3 separate regions of the Homo sapiens genome follow, and regions 2 and 3 are each linked to region 1. The links are contacts of gene promoters, found by promoter capture Hi-C in blood cells and fetal thymus (Javierre and others, 2016). All regions are on one chromosome and are shown on one strand. The core of a region is centred on a gene start or on the middle of the fragment in contact, and the rest is flanking DNA. Distances in the headings are between cores, read along the strand shown. Region 1 holds the start of OR8J3 (olfactory receptor family 8 subfamily J member 3). Region 2 holds the start of OR5J2 (olfactory receptor family 5 subfamily J member 2). Region 3 has its middle 27 kb from the start of OR5J2.

Region 1 (3,507 bases), core at 657-3,156:
TTTCTTTTAATTGGAGAATGTAATCCATGTCCATTTAAAGTTATCACAGATAATGGAGAACATCCTTTTGGCATATTGCTATTTGTTTCCTATAGGTCCTATCCTTATTGTTGGTCATCCTTTCCTCCATAAGTTTTCTTGAGATTTTGGCTGAACCCTAGACTTGTGCATGACATAAAGCTGTTAAAAGAATGACCAGGAAATTGTGTGCTGAAACATTTCATAGAAACTACACAGGGCAGGAAGACATTAGAATTCTAAAAAGTCATAGTGGAAAGTCCTTTTACAAGACATAGACATCCAGTAGAAATCTCAGGAACAAAGCTATTTTAAACCCCTTTGCCAGCTTGAAAACAAGTCTCGAATAGAGTCAACTGATAACTGACAGCACGACAAGGTGACTAAAGTCAATAATTACTTGTACATTTTAAAACATTTATCATTCTTTTAGGAAAACAAATTAAAATAAAACACAGCAATTATTCTTATAAAATTTACAATATTCAACATCCAATCACAAATTCTAGTCCTATGAGAAAGCAGCAGTGTGCAACCTTCAAAATGTTATTATAGATGTTGGATATACTGAATGATTTAGCACAAATACCAACACTGTGAGAAATAAATGAAAATACAATATTACATATGAACAAATATTTATTGAGTAAAAAACATACACTGAAAAAGAAAAGATGTGACTTGTCACAATAGACACTCAAAATGAAGCCAGAGAGAAACATAATACTAAAAACAAAACCCACTGAAACAGTCTCAGTCAACTATAGAACAATAACAAGATACCTACCACATGTTTAATTATAAGGTCTAAGTGGAAAGAAAAAACTATATTATAGGACAAGAAACAGGGAAAAAGATGTTGGCCAGAATTTCTAAGTTTATTTTTTAATAATGATGAAGATACAACAGGATAAAATAACTCCAAGCAAAATAAACAGAAAGAAAATGATGCCAAAGTGCTTCACCATCAATTATAAAAAATTTAATTATAAAAAATTATAAAAAATTCTTCAAAATTGCTAGTGATAAAAGATATAAACGAATGAAGAAATGTTTACCACTGATACATTGGCAGAAAAAATAAAAGTCATGACACTATGACACTTTCTTTGTTTTTTTTTTTTTTTTTTTGAGACTGAGTCTCCCTCTGTTGCCCAGGCTGGAGTGCAGTGGTGCCGTCTCGGCTCACTGCAAGCTCTGCCTCCTGAATTCACGCCATTCTCCTGCCTCAGCCTCCCAAGTCGCTGGGACTACAGGCGCCCGCCACCACGCAAGGCTATTTTTTTTATTTTTAGTAGAGACGGGGTTTCACCATGTTAGCCAGGATGGTCTCGATCTCCTGACCTCGTGATCCGCCCGCCTTGGCCTCCCAAAGTGCTGGGATATCAGGCGTGAGCCACCGCGCCCGGCCAAAGTCATGACACTTTCTTATGTCAACCAATAACTATATGTCTGGTAGAATTATACCATAATCACCAAAAGTATTCTTTGTCAATGGATGTTGTATTATCAAATTTTGCATGTTTTTTTCTAGAAAATTTTTTCTCATTTACTAACAAATTGCATATATGGGTGTCTGTGTGTGGTATACTTAATATGAGCAAAATACTGTGTAACCAAAATGCTGACAAAGTCATATTTATAATTTCCTGTGTTTAGTCATATTGCATAATTCAATTATTCAGTTAGACTGAAACATAAAATATTATGACTTTTTCTAATGGAAAATTCTGAGAATAATTAACAAATATCCAAGGCACTCTCCCTCAGGTAATTATGTACAATTTTTTATCCTTGAATCAGATTGAAACTTCAACTAAATGAGTCTCAAGGGTTTTAGAAAAAAACCTTAAATCTATTCTGTAGCCACCTGTGAGGGCTAAAGAAGTAGAAAGCAAAGCAGATTCTCTGTTGAAGTAAGTAGAAACATTGATCATTGACAATTTTCAAGGGCAGAGTTTAAACTAGGTTATCACCAAAGATGTTGAAGGCCCCTATACTCTGCAAAACTATTTCCTCCCTTGCAATATAGGGCTATTAACTTAATGTTTCATGCTTTTCAACTATTTTTAACAAGGATCTTTGTCTATCATTATTTACCTAGTGCCCCTCCTGTCCTATTCTCATTTCCTATCTATGCACGTTACAGCATTTATAAGAACATATTCTAAAGGCAGGATAACTTTATCTGAATGAAGAACAGATGTGGCATAGGCCATATTTTTTCCCAGATACGCATTTTCAAGAAATTAATTCTTGCCTGGAATCCTGGAATGCCCTTCCTGTGACTGATTAAATAGCTAATTCCTTCTCCACCTTTAGGTTTCAATTCAAATGCCACCTTCTCAGAAGAGCCTTCCTTGTAAAAGTATTAATATTAATATTCTATGTGATAGTACTCTCCCAGGTTATCCTAGTATATTATCTTGTTTGTTTTACCTATTATGCTTATTTAAATCTGCAATTATTGTGTTTATATGCCTTCTTAACAGATTTTTCTCTTCCCTATCATTACAATAACATATTCACGATCTGAGGGTCAGGTAATTTATCTGAAGCTCGAACATAGCCTGGAACAAAGTAGAATTTTAATAAATATGTGGAAAATAAGAGGATAATTCACAGAACCCACAGGAAAAATTTATGCTTGGTATCATCAAACAAACTGGTACCAGATATCCAACAACGTTAGGAGTCATTTTGGTGTTATTTCTCTGTTTTCTTTTTTTAAGTAGTCACTTCTTTATTTTTTCTCACTGTAGAATAATCATTTGTTTCTCTTTCTATTCTATCTCTTTTAGAAGGAGAGAAACTGAATAGCTCTGGGCTTTTAAAATTCAGATCTGTGTGATAATATATTCTTAACTTTCTGGAACTTAATTGTGAACTTTAAAATAAAGAACTATATGATAAGACTTATTTGGACCAGGTGCCCACCACTGGAACTATCAATTGTGACTCCAACAGGACATGAATTCACTTAGTTAGGGGCAAATAATCATGATTAAAATATACAACTCTAGGAAAGTGTTCATCCATACTAAAATAGCACGCTGAATCTATGGCAAATACATGCAACATAATTATCATAAAAACCCTCAAAATGAAGGTGTTTATTCCTGTTACAATAATATAAATATCAAAAAACGTAAAAAAAACAGATCAGCTAAAATTAAGAGCAGGTGTATTGTGTAAATTTAAGAAATATAACATTTTATAAACAAAAAATTGAATTAAAAGAAAAATCATGAAAAAAACACGGAGTATTGTACGAACTTTTAGCACAAGGAAAAGAATAGTCATGAGAGGGAAGAAATAGAAAGTAGTACCCAGGAAAGCATAATGTTGAGGAATTACAAAAATGATAAAAATCTTACTGATTTTTTTTTTTTTTTGAGACGGAGTCTCGCTCTGTCGCCCAGGCTGGAGTGCAGTGGCGCAATCTCGGCTCACTGGCGCAATCTCGGCTCACTGCAAGCTCCGCCTCCA
Region 2 (3,920 bases), core at 1,419-3,918, 36 kb before region 1:
ATGAATAACACAGAATTAGGCAAAGTGGGAGCTGATGATTCAAAATACAATAATTAGCAAAGATAAAATAGTCACAAAAATAGAAATCAAAAACTTCTAAAGAGAGTGGGCTAATTGATGTTTATTGCCTGAGTGTCTAATTCCATATATATGTGTGTATATATATATATATGTGTGTGTGTGTGTGTGTATATATATATACACTTTTATATATATATATACTTTTATATATATATATACTTTTATATATATATATATACTTTTATATATATATATACTTTTATATATATATATACTTTTTTTCATACTAACAGCAGGATTATAGGGAGGCTTTCAGTGCACAATGATATTTAATTGTCAATATCATAGTCTGAAGTTATTTATTCTGTGTGCTTATTGTCATTGTTTTATTAATAATATTATAGTGATGATGGTTATCACTATTGCTGTTAGAAGTAATTTTGTGGCATTAACTCCATATCCCTCATGAATGACTGTCACGTATACTTAAATGTGAACAATATTCATTTCATAAGCATTTTAAAATTTATTTGCACAATCACTTTTATAATTGGATTTTCCAATATAGGAATAAGTTCAAAAAACTATTTTTTTCTGTTTATGAATTTTCATTAGCAAATTGTATATGTCTGACTTGCCAACTATAAAGCTGGAACTACACATTTACTTGGCTATTTCTTCAACTGTCTCATGAACTTTAAGTATCAAGATTCTTTCCTCTGATCATGATAGTAGAGTTCAAAAATACAGAAAAATACACTTAATTCAAATTAATTTAATATTAATGCAAATATTTCCTCAAATTTTTGCTAATGGCAAAAGTTAACATTACATAATGGAAGAAAACTATCAAATCTTAGAATGGATAATTACAGAAGTGAGTCAATGAACAGGTTTTAACTTACATAGTCTGATTTTAAGTATTTAATATATTCCATGAAATTTCTGTAAACGATAAATTTGTGGAATTTTAACTATCTTATTTGCAGTTTTTTATTTTAGATCTTTAATGATAGAAAAAATATTCAAAAAAGAGAGATAAAATGTGTTTTTAATTTTAAATACTTCAAAATGACTATATTATTCTATTCATGCAATTAAAATTTTTAAATCTTAAGCTAAAATTTTATGAGGCTTTTGCTATAATCTCAGAAGTAATCATAGGGATAGCTACCCTCTCTCTTCAGAGTTTAAATCATAGAGAAGGAGATTAACAAAAACATGTTTTTGAAAGAGCTGGAGAGAAAATAATCTCTTCAGTTTATTTCTATGAGGGGCCTGCCACTGTTTAAAATATTTAAATTATAAGTCAATGAAGGCACATTTCAGTTGTATAATTATATCTATTTTCTTGGAAATTCAAGGACTAGTTATTTTTTCCTACAAAGTACCCTATTTTTATATCCTTAAGTGCAAGTATTATTATAATTTTGTAACCCCAAATAACAGAAAAGAACAGATGTAATACTGTACTATGTATTGATTATTACGTGAATAACCTAGAATATCAGCATAACTAAGTGATAGATTGTTGTTTTTGTGTTGCAGGTATGTGAATTAAGTTTTCTCTTCTGGCTGCCTCCTGAAATGCAACAAAAGTATATAGAATGAGAATATCTGTAAAGTCTTGAGAAGCTTTGGCATTCACGGAATTCTTGGAAGTGAGAACTGAATGACAGAATGTTGTAGGATTAATAGTGACTTGAAATTAACAGAGGAAATGTTTCATTTCTATGGCCCTTTTCACTGCCTCCTTTACGTCCTTGTTTCTCAAACTGTGTATCAACAGGTTTAACATGGGAATCCCTAGCGTATAGAACATAGAAACCACTTTCTCTTGTTCCACAAAATACTGGGAGCTTGGCTGAATGTAGCTAAAGATTAAGGTACCATAGAATATGGTCACAGCAGTCAGGTGAGAGGCACAGGTGGAGAAGGCTTGCTGTCTGCCTGATGCTGAGTGGATCCTTAGGCTAGCAAAAGCAATGAAGATGTAGGAAATGATCACAGTCAAGAAGGTGGCCATGGCAATGACTCCGGAGAAGGTTAACAGCAACAACTCATTCATGGAGGTGTCAGAACATGACAGCTTTAGCAGTGAAGGAATGTCACAGAAGAAGTGGCTGACAGCATTTAGCCTACAAAAGGACAGTCTCCTCAAGCTGATTGTGTGGATTAATGTGTTAACTATTCCACCTATCCATGATCCTGTGACAAGCTCCACACACTTTCTATCAGACATGGCTACAGTGTAAAGCAAGGGACTCACAATGGCCACATAGCGGTCATAGGCCATCACTGACAGTAAGAAGCCTTCTGTGGTGATGAACACTCCGAAACACAAATGCTGTACCATGCAAGCAGAGAAAGAAATTGTTGCCTTCACAACCAGGAGGTTCACCAGCATTTTGGGTGCAATTGCAGATGAATAGCAGGCATCCACAAATGAAAGACAGCTGAGTAAAAAGTACATGGGTGTGTGGAGTTTGGAGGTGATTTGGATTAAGAGGATCATGCCCAGATTCCTCAACAAGGTAATGGCGTAAATCACCAGGAACACCACAAAAAGCACAGCTTTTAGTTCAGCATGATCTGTCAATCCCAAAAGAATAAACTCAGTGACAACTGTAAAATTATCATCAGCCATATGTTTCTTTCTTTTTCACAAAATCTACTGTGAAAAAAAGATAGACTCATAATTTGTCAGGGGGAAAATACATATATATTACATATATAAAGTATTTAAATTGATACATATTTTATACACATACACATGCACAAGGATAAAATACAGACAACTACTGATGTTGTTCTTCAGGTAAATAATCTTCTTTCTTGAATTCTGAGGATTTTCATCAATAAATTTAGCAAGTAGGCTAGACAGTCTCTAATATTTTTTCCAGTGACACTTTATGTGCTTATACCTCATAGAAATCGATGTGTAAAAATGATTTTTTCTCACAGCATCTGTCTCTGAAATGTCTAGCTCCATAACAAAGTGCCACCAAAACTGATAAAACACTAGTGATAATTTAAATGAACAGTATGTAAAATACATATTGTTAGAATATTAAATTACCATTCAATGAAACTCCTTTCTGGTAATTTTTTGGTTTGTTTTTGAGTAAATAAGAAAACTTTCTAAAATTGCCTGTATTTTCTATTTATAGAGGGAATTAATCTACAGTTGCATTATTATAGACAGCAAAGTGGCCACAATAATGAAGTAAGGTGGATCAGGGACCCACAGTGATGACATTGGAAAATGCCAGGGAGCCAGAGACTGGCCTCTGTGACTATGGGTGGCATGGTGTGGCAACACCAAACTCTGAAACTCATGAAATAACACCCTGTCTCTTGAATGACACCTACTAAAAGAAGTGGGGATTCTTAACTCTAGGTAATCCTCCCTGCAATCATGGTGGGAGAGTAGCCCTAATCATTTACTCTGAGATTGAGGACCTAGAATCCCACATATTGCATGAAATGGAGCCTTCCTGTTTTTTTTTTTTTTTTTTTTTTCTGAGACTTCAAATAATTTTAGGCAATAAAACAAACTCAATAATTTAGAACATGAATATATATACTCACCAAATATTCTGTGATACTTCTTCCTCTTATTCATCCTATAAAAGGTAGTTTAGACAATTTAAGACTTTCTAAAAATGTAATTTCAATTGGAACAATACACACCTGCACCTCCTATTCAAAGCTATTCACCTGTTTCATAATCAACTATCTCCCACTCTTATTTCCTATTAAATGGATTGTAGTTTTAGAAATGATGAGAAACAAATATTGATTCAGTCTATGTGTAATTTATACCCCTTATTAATTTTAATTAAAATATTTCAAAGACAACAATGGTGAAAAGTGAAAATACATAGTTGACAATAACT
Region 3 (3,499 bases), core at 217-2,716, 64 kb before region 1:
TTCCTGTAGGTGCAGTGTACTCTAGGGTGGCTCATTCACAGAATCAGAAAAGACTTTACATCATGACACTTGGATATCTGGCACCTTACCAAAGGCTAGGAATAGGAACTACAATGTTAATTCATGTCTTAAACATGTGAAAAAGATGGCACTTTTGACATCTATCTGCATGTCCAGATCAGCGGTGAGTCGGCAATTGACTTCTACAGGAAGTTTGGCTTTGAGATTATGGAGCCCAAGAAGAACTACTATAAAACCGCAAAGCCTGCAGATGATCATGTCCTGCAGAAAAACCTCAAATTACCTTCTGGTCAGAATGCAGATGTGGAAAAGACAGACAACTGAACAAATTACCTTCTCAAAAGGAGAAAGAAGGAAAACTGAAGGCAATAATAACCTGAAAATCACGTGCAGTGAGATATAGCAAAAATTGAACTTCAAAATATGAATCTAAAATACTTTAAGAGGAGAAATCTACCTATAGAAGTAACATTCTCATTTTAAATAAAAAAATACAGCATTTCCAACCAGAAATTAGGAAAATTAATTGGATCTCAGAAAGAAATTTGGCAGAAATAGATAGTGTTTGCAGTTTAGAAAATGACTGTTACAGAAACAGATTTCAAAATTAAAAATCAAAACTTTTTGCAATTTTATTAAAAGCAAACCAACATTTCAATAAAACCATATTGTTTTACCATAAGGGACAAAGATTTAGTTTTATATTAGTTTATTTAATACTGAATAACTTATAAATATATTTATACATTTAGTTATAGAGAACTTGATTACAAACAAAATTTATTTTATAAATTCCTCTTTAAAATTATTTTCATGATTTATTCAGACCATTGTTGACATGTTTGGAATTTTAATTTTGTCCTGTGCTTGCTCCTTTTAAAATAAGCATTTTACTTTAGTACAAAAATTATCACACGAGATTTTTTTTCTACAAAATTTTTTAACCTTCTTTGCCAAAAATACATTTTCTTACCCATAACTTTTGTCACATCTCTCTCAACTATTTACTAGTTTTTGTCTTGTTTTAATTTTCTTCCTAAATCTATTTGTTGAAATAATCTTTAAAAAACCTCTGAATTATGCAATATTATTTTTAAAAGAACATATTTTAGGTTTGTAAATAGTTTTTTGTCAAAAAATCTTGTTTTTAATACATTTTCTATACAGAATTATATTGATTTTGACTGTTGTTGTTTTATTTATTTTTATTTTTATTTTTTGAGACAGAGTCTCGCTCTGTTGCCCAGACTGGAGCGCGGAGATGCGATCTCGGCTCGTAGCAGCCTCTGCCTACCAGGTTCAAGTGATTCTCCTGTCTCAGCCTCCTGAGTAGCTGGGATCACAGGCATGTGCCACCACGCCCAGCTAATTTTTGTATTTTTAGTAAAGACGGGGTTTTTCCATGTTGGCTAGGCTGGCCTTTAATTCCTGACCTCAGGAGGTGGCCTCCCAAAGTGTTGGGATTACAGGCGTGAGTCACTGTTTCTGTCCCAGAATTATATACATATTAATTGGAATTTTAACTCTTAGCAACCTAATTTCTACCAAGCAGTGTTAAACCATCTGTCATTTATCAGTATTTTATGGAATGGAAGCCATTTTATATATTTTGAAACATGTTTTCCTATAGCATAATTTTTGTATGTACTGATAGACTCTAGTATATTTACTATTTCTATATAATTTAAGAAACCATGAATAAAAGTATTTTGTTTAACAATCAGTTTGATTTTCTAAAATTTGCAAATGACCCAGTTATTTAGTGAATATTTATTACTTAATTTAACATAACATAACTTTACAATTTTAAATTACATGAAAAGTTTATTTATAAGCATTTATCTCATTTACTTAAATTTTATTTAACTTTAACAGTTTACCTGTGTTATCTATGAGAATTGACATATTAAACAAAACTAGAATATTTTTAAATTATTTTCCTATCAATTATTATTATAGCCTGTGACTCTCAGGTGTTCACTTAAGAACTTTAATTATATGAGTATTTTATCAATAATTCAAAAAATACAGTGGTTTTCATTAAACTGACAATATAAAATTACCCTTATGTATCAAAGAGTTACAGAAAGATTATTCTGGTTTAGGCTAGGTTTATAGTTTTACAACCTGTGTGTCAAATCTTGACACTTTAAACCATCTAGCCCAGACAAGTATAAAAGTGTCTGACCAGTAAATTCAGGCAGAAATGTATGTTTCCAATCCTGAAGATTTTTTTTCTTACTTTACCAATAATTTTAAAATCAGCTAATTTATTAAAGATATACCTATGTCACATGAACTAAAAGGCATTTGGTTAATTACTATATCATATAATTTTATATGAGTGCTCATTTATTTAAGCCAATTTAAATAAAATTTCATAATGAATGTCTGGCCAACTGCACTAGGTTTTACCATATAGGTACAACATACAACAATATATTTACATATCAATAAGTGTACCTAAACACATATATACACACAGTGATTTTATAGTCTTTATTTTAGTATTTGGTCATGAGACAGTAAACTATAGAAACTCACTGGTTTATAAAAAAACAGTTGGATTCAAATTATATTTTTTATAAAATTGGCACCTCCTCACATAACTAAATTTTATTTGCCTGATAGGCAATCTAATGAAGGCTGTCGACCAAAATTTTGTATAAAGCAGCACTTTCCATAGCAATTGGAATTTTTTTACACTATTTTTTCCTTTTTTCTCTTTCTTTTTAATTTTAAGTAAATTTAGGATTAAATATTTAAAACTTACATTTTTGCTAGGACTGGCTGAGTTGTATAAGAAAAACAAATTTAAGAGTAGCCTTGAATCTGTCTTGTGTTTCTTGACCAGACAAATATTAGCGGGAAACCATTTTAGTAAGTCTGGATTTTTTTCCTTTTTTTTTTTTCTTTTTCCTTTTGGCCCCTGATTGCAGACAATGTGAACTTTTATCTTATTTAACAAAGACATCTTATATTATTTCCCTGATCTTAACAGTTTGACCTGTTTGATCTGTTAGCCAAACTTTTATAAACTTTTATTTAGTTTTTTCTTTTACACTATTAATCCTTTAACTAACTATTCTACTACCCTAATTGTTAGTCAAACACAGTTACATTTATATTTCCAAGTTACCATGAAGCTGTTGTAGCTTGTAAAGCCATTAATTTGAAAATTCTTTAAAATCTATTTTTTTAAAAATAGTCTTGGCTGGAATGCCATAATAATTGAGTTTTGGCTTAACACTAATACAAAAGTCAGCAGATTTAAAATAGGCAGAAAAGAAAAATAGAGAAATAGGAAACCTTGACAAATTTACATGTTAATTCTATAGTTTCAGGGCTTTATTTTTTTAAAAGGGTTTGACTAATGACCATTTGAACTTTTAATTTTTCTCAATGTAATTTTCCCATCAATTAAACAATGTATATAAGAATGGACCATATTATATTGCTGGCTGTAATCCTAGAAAAC

The links. Contacts are between HindIII fragments. The CHiCAGO score rates a contact against its expected background, and 5 or more counts as called.
Region 2: a contact is called between the fragment with the promoter of OR5J2 here and the fragment with the promoter of OR8J3 in region 1, in 1 of 17 cell types (neutrophils). The highest score is 6.1, in neutrophils.
Region 3: a fragment that was not itself captured here is called in contact with the fragment with the promoter of OR8J3 in region 1 in 1 of 17 cell types (neutrophils); the score reaches 5.8 in neutrophils.

Annotation. Positions count from the first base shown.
Region 1 is chr11:56,138,600-56,142,106 of GRCh38, reverse strand. It overlaps OR8J3 (olfactory receptor family 8 subfamily J member 3), which reads left to right and starts at 1,906. Exons shown (of 2, transcript NM_001004064.2): 1 at 1,906-1,934. The HindIII fragment of the contact is 14,492 bases long and covers 1-3,507 here.
Region 2 is chr11:56,175,366-56,179,285 of GRCh38, reverse strand. OR5J2 (olfactory receptor family 5 subfamily J member 2) reads right to left here and starts at 2,668. Exons shown (of 1, transcript NM_001005492.1): 1 at 1,730-2,668. The coding sequence starts at 2,668. The coding sequence ends at 1,730. The HindIII fragment of the contact is 2,510 bases long and covers 1,659-3,920 here.
Region 3 is chr11:56,201,967-56,205,465 of GRCh38, reverse strand. It overlaps the pseudogene NAA50P1. Among named protein-coding and RNA genes, the nearest start is that of OR5J2, 27 kb to the right of the region's middle. The HindIII fragment of the contact is 4,198 bases long and covers 1-3,499 here.